2 separate regions of the Homo sapiens genome follow, and region 2 is linked to region 1. The links are contacts of gene promoters, found by promoter capture Hi-C in human tissues and cell types (Jung and others, 2019). All regions are on one chromosome and are shown on one strand. Each heading gives the region's core, a stretch centred on a gene start or on the middle of the fragment in contact. The rest is flanking DNA. Distances are from core to core; before and after follow the strand shown.

Evidence for each region. The method cuts DNA at HindIII sites, captures the fragments that hold promoters and counts their contacts. A contact is called where the count stands out against the background at its distance.
Region 2: a fragment that was not itself captured here is called in contact with the fragment with the promoter of IGIP in region 1 in 1 of the 25 tissues and cell types used here (hippocampus).

What each region holds. Positions count from the first base shown.
Region 1 is chr5:140,123,798-140,129,369 of GRCh38, reverse strand. It overlaps IGIP (IgA inducing protein), which reads right to left and starts at 3,433. Exons shown (of 1, transcript NM_001007189.2): 1 at 1-3,433. The coding sequence starts at 893. The coding sequence ends at 732. It overlaps PURA (purine rich element binding protein A), which reads right to left. Exons shown (of 1, transcript NM_005859.5): 1 at 3,751-5,572. The HindIII fragment of the contact is 10,247 bases long and covers 1-5,572 here.
Region 2 is chr5:139,623,498-139,629,069 of GRCh38, reverse strand. It overlaps UBE2D2 (ubiquitin conjugating enzyme E2 D2), which reads right to left. Exons shown (of 7, transcript NM_003339.3): 7 at 636-2,314. The coding sequence ends at 2,269. Among named protein-coding and RNA genes, the nearest start is that of CXXC5, 22 kb to the left of the region's middle. The HindIII fragment of the contact is 3,301 bases long and covers 1,109-4,409 here.

The sequences.
Region 1 (5,572 bases), core at 2,184-4,683:
ATATTTCAAATAACTAAGAGTGGAATTAGAATGTTCCTAAAACGAAGAAATTATACATACTTCAGGTGATGGATACCCCAATCATCCTGATTTAATCAGTACATTGTACGCTTGTTTCAAAATGTTACATGTACCCCATAAGTATGTATAACTAGTATGTATCCATGATAATTACATTTTTTTTATTGTAACTGACAGAAAACAAAAAACCTTCCATGAGAATGGAGCATGATCTTTGGGAAAAGGTTTCCCTTCTCTTCAACATGATGGCTAGGTTCACTGTCATACCACCAGAGAATTTTTTAAATGACCCAGTATGCCAGGATAGGGAGGCCATTCACATAACATTTTTAAAAATAAGCAAACCTACCTTAAAATAAAATAGAAGATAGAGTTCTCTAGTATGAGAGCACACTTAATGCTTGCAGCCAATTCATAAGCATAAGTATACCTGCTACTGAGTCCTAAAAAGTTTCCACCTATCAAAAAAAAAAAAAATCCAAGATCGCAACCAGACCCCTTCCCCCAAAAAGCACTGAAACAAAAGACTGATCTGATTATACAGTCACATGAAAAATAAACATCTTTATTTTTTTGCCTACTTTATTTCATTTTTTCAAATAAAATTTAAATCTGTACAAAGTATACTGTTACAGTATATATTTTGTAAGAATCAATGCCTAAAATAATCACAATACTTCAATAAGCAGTACAGCAGACCTCGCTAGTTTTCAGCTTTGATATTGAACAAACTCAAGCCGGCTGATGCACAACACGTTTGCTTGGTTTCCACATGGTGATTTCCCAGCACTGAGATGGGAGAACATGACAGCAAATATGGTAATATTACAGCCCGACACACTGCGTTTCTTCATGTGATAATAACTGCACATATTTAATACAGAATGCTCAAATTTACTTTTTAAATTGCATTTGCTTACTTCTTAGTTGGCAAAATTCAGCATTCTTAAATGGGGTCCCCAAACAGTGCAAATTAATGATATTCTAACTGTATATTGGCACATCTCCAATAAGGATTAACTTGTAAACTCAAAGAATATCAACAACTTAGTCCTAAATTTTAACTAATATACATCTGGTCCATTTAACCAAAGTCATTTTGGAAAGATATTAAAGAACAATTCTATTTCTGAAAGGATATTGTTTTGACCATTCTTTAGAGAAGATAAATTTTTAAATTGTCATTAAAATGTTTCACTATAAAAATTTTACAAACTTGATTAGAAATTTCAAGATTATGATTCACAGCAGACAAATACAAACTGTATATTCCAACAATACCTATTCTTAGACTTTCAAACAGAGCACAACCATGTCAGCTGTGTTAACTAAAATTCTGAACAGTGTACTAAATTTATAAGTGGTGCTGGGTCTAGCAAGTGTAAATACACAGTATATTTCAATGAAAAGAATTGTCTTCTTTATACTTTATTTGTTTTCCCATAAGGAAACATTAATGTTTACATTCTTTAATAAAGTTAATCTTACATCAGAATATAACTTAATACTGTCAGCAACAGGGACCACACACAGTAAATAAGAAGCACATTTAAAATAAGTCTGATTTCACATAGATTAACATTTGTTGGTTAATAAAATATCGACAGTATTACAATCTTACAATATTTACAGTAAGAAAAATCTAGAGTAATATATACCTTTCACAGCAGGATTCCTTTTTTTAAAATTTCTTCCAGTTTGGGATTGTGTATACACAAAAAGCTCAAAATAAAGCAACTCTGCAATATAATCTTAAAATAATGGCTACTGGGGGAAATTCTATCACAACCATTGAAAATAATGGTGACTTCTCACGGAGTCTGTGGCATCTGAGAACCCAGTTAATTAACCAAAGTCTTGCTCATATTAGCCTCAGTTACCCAGATTAAAGCAGAACTCCGGCCTTCCCTGACTGCTGAAAACCCAACAGATTTTCTCAACATGCTATAAGGAAAGAGGAAAAATTGGTTTCAGCTCACACCTCATGGCTGGAAGCCTCTGGAAGCCTCCAGCCAGTGCACACTCCCCAACTTATGCTAAAAGAGGGCCAATTTCATCCCCACAGCATCACAAGAGTCCACCCTCCAACCACACAGTGCTCTGACACCAAGCTCACCCATTCCTCAACTCTTGTGCCTTAGGATAACACATGAACTTAGCCCACATAATACACACCAGCGTCTTAGAGACTTGAGACCAGGGCAAAGAAACAGACTAGTGTAGTTTGCACTGAGATCAGTAAGAAAAATGGGAAGTGATGCACATTTCCAATTAGAATGACAAGAAGAAGACCCACATCCCTAAACTGGAATTTGGCCAGGGCATCAGAGTTAGCACCCCCTCTCTGAGTACCGCTAGCGATTAGGATGTGTGCTCTGGGCCTCCTCTAAAAGAGAGCATCTACAGTAAGTAACACAGTATGGGACATTAGTTCAGTGACGACTGCCAAGAAAGCAGATACAATTCTTGAATCTGGGGCTGTCTACGGCACCTGAGGTCAATCATCCAAGCTGTGACCTGTCCCAACCCTGCTTACTTTAAGATATCTGATGGGCACAGAGCACTCAGGGATATGGCTGCTGGCTACTTTGGACTCTAGATCTCACAGGTAATCAACAGGTATCTGGGATTGAATTAGCAAACTGTACCATAGCTCCTTAAACAGACATTGTCAAGTCTGAAATCATGTCAAGCATGAATCTTCACTGTCAGGTCAGTAATCAAAGTGGGAGTCTTCCCACATCAGCCAAGGTTATTTTGTCAGAACCTTAGAGGAGTTGGACAGTTTTTCATGTTGCAAGTGATTGGTTTACTTATTTCAGTCAAGCTGGATTGGCAAACCAGACTGATTTATTTAGTGAGCTTTGTTTTTTTGATTCTTATGTGTGTGCTAACCCAAAGCTGTTGTATTTGGGCTAAATACACTGACAGAGAAAATTCAAACGACAAAAGTTTTCAGCAAACTTCTGTGGCATTTTTTCTTTTTGGAAGTAAATGCAAGATCTAAAGGTATTTCTACCCAACAACGTCTGTTTAAGTGTTTAATGTTATTTCCTTTTTGGTCCTATACAGAATGCTATGACTTCTATATAGGTCTGAATGCTGCTCCATGTAGATTCCTTCTGTATATCTAAAAATATATACTTTTCAGTAGTTCAATACATGGTTAATCTTCCCACAGAGGAAGATTTTTGTAATCACATGTTGCAAAGTAGAAAACATCTCCTTTCTAAGAAAGGAAATATACTTTCCTATTGTACACTTTTGAATAAGCCCAAAGGCATGCACCAAAAATCATTAATAAAACTAATACATGCAATAAAATGGTGTAGAGTTAGACTTAAAGTGCTGCTTCTCAATTTTTTTTAATTTGAAGAAGACATTTTGTCAGTTGTAGACTCAAAAATCTTTCCCCCACCCACCCTCCCCACCCCATGGCATTAAGAGAGAAAAGTAAAAAGTATGCATAAATCTTTTAACTATGCTTTACATGGGGGAAAGAACAGATGTATCAACTATCCTATATATCAACTGGATTCCCAGTTTTAAATAAAACCAATATTTACTGGTAAAAATTGTCAAAGCGAATACACGCAAACAAATGTTACTAGTAAATAAATGTTCTACATAGAGAATAATTTACTTTGGTTTTATGCGCCTTCTCAAAAATAACACTAGTGTCCCAACGTCACCAAACTGATGTGTTCCAGCAAAGTTGTAAGGCAAATCTTTTTTTCCCTAGTGACATCTTGTTTCCCAACAGACAAAACTAAAATCTTTTGGTGAGGAAGGGGTTAAGATAATGGCTAACCCCTTGGCATCCTGAGCATTGTGGTTTATCAAACTCTACCCTGCTAGAAATTGTCAGGCACCCTGACCCCTGCCTTGAACCAGGAAGGCTCCCATGTCTAGAGATGCCCTGACTCCTTATAAATAGCTTTCAGAACTTTGCTTTTTTCCCTTCTCTCTGGTTGTTATAATGTCTAACGAAGCTGGTTGCAATGTCACATTTTGCTAGTAGGGGCCACCATCTAACAATAATTCCAATATGAAAGGTTTTAAGCCAATAGTTGGTTCCTAATTTTATCAACGATTTGCACTAAAATTCTCTACAATTTACTTAGAGCAGAGATCTTTAACTTGGGTTTCAGAAGATGTGTGATGCCCCTGAAGTTGTATGCAAAATTATCCAGGGATGGGCATTTTTTTTTTCTTGGGTAGAGGATCCATCACACTGTCATCAGATTATCAAAGATATCTGTGACCCCCAAAAAGGGTTATAGGGACTTAGAGGGATACCCGTAATTCATTTTATACCAGGACTGGGAAATGGGGGCAGAAAACTAAAAATGGCCTCGAAAAAGGCCAGGGACAAATTGCTGATCTTTTCCCTTTATTCACATTGGGAAAATAAGTGCTTCAAACTGGAAAAATCATTAATTAAGCTGGTTAAACTCCATTAAAAAATAATCAAATCGCTTTCTAAATTTTTTTCATTTTCGATATGTGGTAAATTTTGTCTCCAAGAAAAGGTTTGGAGACTGAATTTTTCTCTTTTCCTAAAGGAAATTCATAGATAGAATGCTGAATATCATCCACATTTAAAGATTTGACAACATAAAAGTTAGATAACTCTTAATGATGTGAATCTTTAACTTATGATTTTGAGTAAAGGATTATCTAGAATCAAATATACACTTATTAATCTTCATTTCCCAAAATTGGTCCATATTTAGACAACTACCTGGCACAATTTCACTAGATAAACCTAAAATCTGAACAATGGAAGTTAAACTTCTACCCAAAGTAAAAACAAAGCCATAAGATTCCACAATTGAATTGGCCACAAACATTCACACTATGTTATAAAGGACTTTCTCATTTCAAATACATCACTGAATGTTCAACAGAATTTGCAAACATAAGATCCAGAATGACTAGCAAAACATGCTAAGAGCATGTCAAAAAGTAAAACACCACCTCTCCCCCCCCAATCTGGAAACACACTCAGGCATTCCAAAAATAAACCAGATCTGAAAAGAGGCCTCTCACTTGGTTTTAAGTATGAGGTGTGTACAAAGCTATGGGAAAGGGAATATAAAATGAAATAACCAAATAACTTACAAAAAATAATTTTAGCCAAAAACACATCTCTCTGTTCCATTGATAAAACTATCAATTTTTAAATTTTTTTGCAATTCTGAACACTGTGTTGCATAATATCACCAAGACAAAAAATATGTTCACAGGTACACTTTTTGTTATTTTCTTTCTAGAGCACATCTTTGAGGTCATAAGACCGCATCTGGTTAAAATAAAGTCTCTTGCCCTTGCTTCCCTTCCCCCTCAAAGTGATTCAACCCTGAATTCCAAAAAGGAATATTCAATATAACAACTTGAAAACCAGTTGTAACACTTAGACCATAAGGAAACTATATGAACATTATGGAAAACTACATGAAAGAGGGAGCTGCCACTTGCCACCCACTTCACTTCCAGCTTTTTAAGCATGTACCCAGCTAGACTCCTATCTCACTGACTTCAGTGAAAC
Region 2 (5,572 bases), core at 1,510-4,009, 500 kb after region 1:
AAATACAGAATGAGCTTTCAGGATCTGTGCAACTGACCCACGGTCAACAGTATGTAGTTAATAGCAAGCCAATAATTGATGGAAGGCTGGGTATGGTGGCTGTCTCTAGTCCCAGCACTTTGGGAGGCTGAGACAAGAGGATCACTTGAGCCTAGGAGTTCAGGACCAGCTTGGGCAACATAGTGAGACTCCTGTCTCTAAAAAAAATTTAAAAATTAGCCAGGTGTGGTGGCATGTACCATAAGTCCCAGCAACTTGGGAGGTTGAGGTAGGGGGATTGTTCGAGCCTAGAAGGTTGAGGCTGCAGTGAGCTGTGCTGTCATGACTCCGACTGCACTCCAGCTTAGGCAAGAGAATGAGACCCTGTCCCTCTCTTAAAAAAAAAAAAAAAAAAAAAAAAAGATGAAGTCCCACTTGCCCATAATACTGAGAATACAGGGTGATTTTAGGCTTAAGCTAAATTCTAACTCCTTTCCCCACAACTGTTAACAGTTAAGCCTTTTCTGCAAAGTCAAGGATGCTAATAAGAGATGCTTGAAATGCTTATAAGAGAACTGTAAGAGGTTTTGGGTTTTATCACACAAGTTCCAAGGTGGAGGAGCAGTGACAGTGAGAGATAAGACAAGGTGAACAAGTTTAAAACCAAAAGCAGTGGACATTTATTCCTTAACTTTTGTGCAAGAGTGTAAAGATGCATTTGAAAGAACCTGATGGCTAGAGCATCAGCCATGGCTTTCAGGTTGGCCTAGTTTACAATTAGGAAAAGAAGGGGGGAAAAAAGGTAACTTGCCTAGTTCACATGAATGATGTTTCTGGCAAACACAGTTGTTTACAAGTTTCAAGCTATATTTTACTAGGGTCAAGGGAAGACTTCAAAAAGCCACATACAGTACAATTTAAAATTGTGTGAACATCCTGCAAATGTTAGTGCAAAGTAATTATGTAGACTCTCCAAACAAGACTGTGCTCTTGTTTCCCAGGTTTGGTCAATGTTGCTCTTTTATAATTACAATCACAGAAGCTTAACTTACCAAATAGCAATGCCTCTGTGTTTTATGTCCTATGTACCAAGGGAATGTCACAAGGTTTTGATGAAATGCAGCTTAGTTTCATTAATAAAGCAAATTTCTTATTGAATTTAACAATCAAGTTCCTGGAATGCTGCATGTGTTGTTTCATGGAAATGCTCTTAAGCTTATGCCTCTAACTTGTTCAATAAAATTACTCGTAAGATATCCTTTTTACAATGTAACTGGAATTGTTTCATGATCTTAAAATGCAACCAGTATAAATGAACATTTCAGAAGTGGGAGAAAATCCACCACTAATCTCAGCTAGACAAACTTCTTAAAAATGAAAAAGCCTATTCACACAAAATTATATGTAATGACTGTAGTAACCAGTTTATTACACAGATTAATCATTCTTGAAAGTACAAGCTCCAGAGGAGCAATTGGGTCTTTAAATATACACAAGTATTTCCATCAAATGAATTTTCACCCTTACATCCAAATAGACCTAAGCGGTTAAAAACATAAGAAAAATAAGAGCTATTAGCTATGTATTAACTGAGAAACCACATACAAACCAAAGAATATGGAAGAGAGAAAGAAGGGCTGAAAGGCCAAAGGTTGAAGGGGTAGGGAGATGTAAAAGAGTTGGGAACAAAGCCCATCACACTTGATGTACTAATAGCTCCAATCCATTTAAATGTTGACCAGTTAAACTTAGACCTTAAAATGCAGGATGTGGGTAGAGTTTAATCTGGTTGGTCATAACTTTCACCTAAGACGTAGCTCCTTCGGAATAAAATGAATACAGACACAGCTTCATGTTCTTCACCTTGCTTTTCATAACTGTTTTGAGTTTAAATGGATTCCACTTAAAAATAATCTCCTATAGGTGAGTGGAGCCTTTTCTTTCCCATCCAAGCACACACCATACCCACCACCCCCCTCACACCTTGCTGTTATCCAAATTTAAGTCAATAAGAAAAGCTTTTAGTCTCACACCTAGGTAATGCCTGTAGAACTGGCTTGTCACACACACACTTCTCTGCTAGGAGGCAATGTTGGTACAGAAGTACAGTATTTCTAGTTTGTTGTTCCAAGTATGTACAACACGCAGCACTGCTGTATCAGGTAAACATGTGCACAGGGGAAGATGAGGCGTGGGCTCATAGAAAGCAGTCAAATGGAAATCAAAAGGACTTTCTCTTTCAGAGTTCCCCTATCTTTATTTGTAGAGGTTATCCAATAATTTCTTTAATTACATCGCATACTTCTGAGTCCATTCCCGAGCTATTCTGTTGTACCTGTACACACAAAGAGAAGCTTGGCTTAACATAGGTGTGGAGTCAGTAAGCAACAGATTCCATTCATTATCCCATCAAGTAACTTGAAGAGAGTAGCTTATAGGACATTCAAGGAAAGGCCCCTTTCTATCCCAAATTTCTGATAAGGATTAATTCAATGATAATGGGAAGGAGCTGTAAAATGTGAAAGTCTCCTTTAATTGCTACTTATAGAGGGTTCTGATTAAATTTTAGTATTTGTTGGCATATACCTTATTCCATACTTGATTGGCCTATTTCTACAAAAGATGTCCACTCAATTCATTCATTTAAAGTACTTGAAATTATATGATTCTACATTACATAGTTCTTGAACTCATATACTAATAATGATTAAACCGACAGAAGGCTGGGCATGTTGGCTCACACCTGTAATCCCAGCACTTTGGGAGGCTGAGTCGGGTGGATCACTTGAGCCCAGGCGTTTCACACCAGCCTGGGCAACATGATAAAACCCTGTCTCTACAAAAAAATACAAAAATTAGCAGGGTGTGGTGGCGCATGACTATAGTCCCAGCTACTCAGGAGGCTGAGGTGGGAAGATCGTTTGAGCTCAGGAGGCAGAGGTTGCAGTGAGCTGAGATTGCAATACTGTACCATAGCCTGGGTGACAGAGTGAGGCTCTGTCTCAAAAAAAAAGGGGGAAAAAAAACCAAACTTTCCTTTCATATCAATAAAACAATTGGTTCTGGTAGAACTAATTTCAACAATTTGGTTGACAAAATGAATGGGTTTATTGCTTCAGAAGAACATTTGAATAAAGTAAGCAGAGCAAATGATTCTATAATTCTCCTATTAAAAAACGGGTGCTAGGCCGGGTGTGGTGGCTCACGCCTGTAATCCCAGCACTTTGGGAGGCTGGAGCAGCTGGATCACTTGAGGTCAGGAGTTCCAGACCAGCCTGGCCAACATGGCAAAATCCCGTCTCTACTGAAAACACAAAAATTAGCCAGGCATGGTGATGTGCGCCTGTAATCCCAGCTACTCAGGAGGCTGAGGCACAGGAATCACTTGAGCCTGGGAGGCAGAGGCTGCAGTGAGCCAAGATTGTGCCACTGCATTCCACCTGGGCAACGGAGCAAGACTCTGTCTCAAAAAAAAAAAAATTAGCTGGATGTGATGGCATCTGCCTGTGGTCCCAGCTACTTGGGAAGCTCAGATGGGAGGACTACTTGAGCCTGGGAGGTTGAGGTTACAGTGAGCTGTGATTGTGCCACTGCATTCCAGTCCGGGCAACAGAGCAAGACCCTGCCTCAAAAAAAAAAAAAAAAAAAAAGGGGGGGGGGTGGGGGTGGGTATGCTGGCCTTGCACGGTAACTCATGCCTGTAACAGCAGCACTTTGGGGGGCTGAGGCAGAAGGCCTGCTTGAGGCCAGGAATTAGAGACCAGCCTGTGCAACATAGTGAGATCCTGTCTCTACAAAAAAAAAAAAAAAAAAACAAATTAGCCAGGTGTAGTGGCATGTACTAGCAGTCCCAGCTACTGGGGAGGCTGGAAAGGTGTAGTGGCATGTACTAGCAGTCCCAGCTACTGGGGAGGCTGGGGTGGGAGGATCACTTGAGCCCATGAGTTTGACACTGCAGTGAGCCACGATTGTGCCACTGTACTCCAGTCTGGGCTGAAGAACAAGACCCTGTCTCTGCAAAAAAAAAAGTGGGGGGTTAGAGGGTGGGGGCAGTGCAGTTTGGGAAAGTTCTGTTCAACAGTGTTCAACATTACTCCATGATGACTTGGGAAATGACTTCTGGTAAGCATTCAGACCCACAATTCTAAATATCGGACAAAACAGTTCTCTAATCAAAAAAATTTGACAATAAATTCACAAATAGGAAAAAGCAAGAACCAACTACTGTTAGAATATCCCATTCCCAGTGTTACCTCCACTAAAAACAAAAACGTATCTATGCCTCTCTAATCCACTAGAACTCAAGTTGGAGACGTGAGTCTTGCTCTGTCGCCCAGGCTGAAGTGCAGTGGTGCAATTTCAGCTCACCGCAACCTAAACGTCCTGAGTTTAAGCAATTATCTCAGCCTCTCGAGTAGCTGCGATTACAGGTGCCCGCCACCATGCCCGGCTAATTTTTGTATTTTTAGTAGAGACGGGGTTTCACCCCGTTGGCCAGGCTGGTCTCAAACTCCTGACCTTGTGATCTGCCCACCTCAGCCTCCCAAAGTGCTGGGGTTACAGGCGTGAGCCACTGCGCCCGGCCCTAAAAGAACTATCCACCCTCTCCTATCTAGTTCCTCTTATAACTTCACTGAATACTACATAAAACAGATGTTATTAGTGCTGGGCATGGTGGGCATGCTTATAATCCTAGCTACTCCAGAGGCTGAGGTAGGGAGTTTGAGACCAACCCAGGCAACACAGCAAGACTCCATCTCAAAAGAAAAAAAGAAAAGAAAAAATGCTACTAGAACACTTTTAGCTACTATCTCTTTTGATATCTTGACCACTGTTCAATAATTCATAGTACAATTCTAAAATACCCAAATTCTACATCAAGTTTTGTTTTTAAAAGAAATTTGGGGCTTTCACGTCTAATGGCATTTATTTGCTTTCTTCCTTTAGATTATGTCAAATGGTAGGAAATCAATTCTCTTTTCCCATTAATTGACAAATACCTATGGCAGGCAAATGGGCACTTGATGAAAAGTGCTTTATATATCAAAAGCCAAGCATAAGGCATTAAGCTGTTGAAAAATATACCATAGGAAAGTTTTTGTATGGGTGTGGTGGCTCACACCTGTAATCCCAGCACTTTGGGAGGCCTAGGCAGGCAGATCATTTGAGGTCAGGAGTTCGAAACCAGCCTGGCCAACATGGTAAAAGTCTCTACTAAAACTACAAAAAAAACGAACCTGGCGTGGTGGCCTGCGCCTGTAATCCCATCTACTCGGGAGGCTGAGGCATGAGAATCACTTGAACCCAGGAGGCGGAGGTTGCAGTGAGCCAAGACTGCACCATTGCACTCTAGCCTGGGTGACAGAGTAAGACCCTGTCTCAAAAAAAAACAAACAAAAAAAAAAGTTTTTGTAGACAAGAGGAGTCACGTGAAACAATCAGGGATAAGACTGGCATCATCTACTTATAATAATACTCAATGCATATATTTCTCTTTTCTAGCCCCAGGAGAGTATATTAGGACTTCACTTTAAATATCTGGCCGATATTCAGCCCTTAAACAAGAAAGATTTGTGACAAACATCTCCATCCC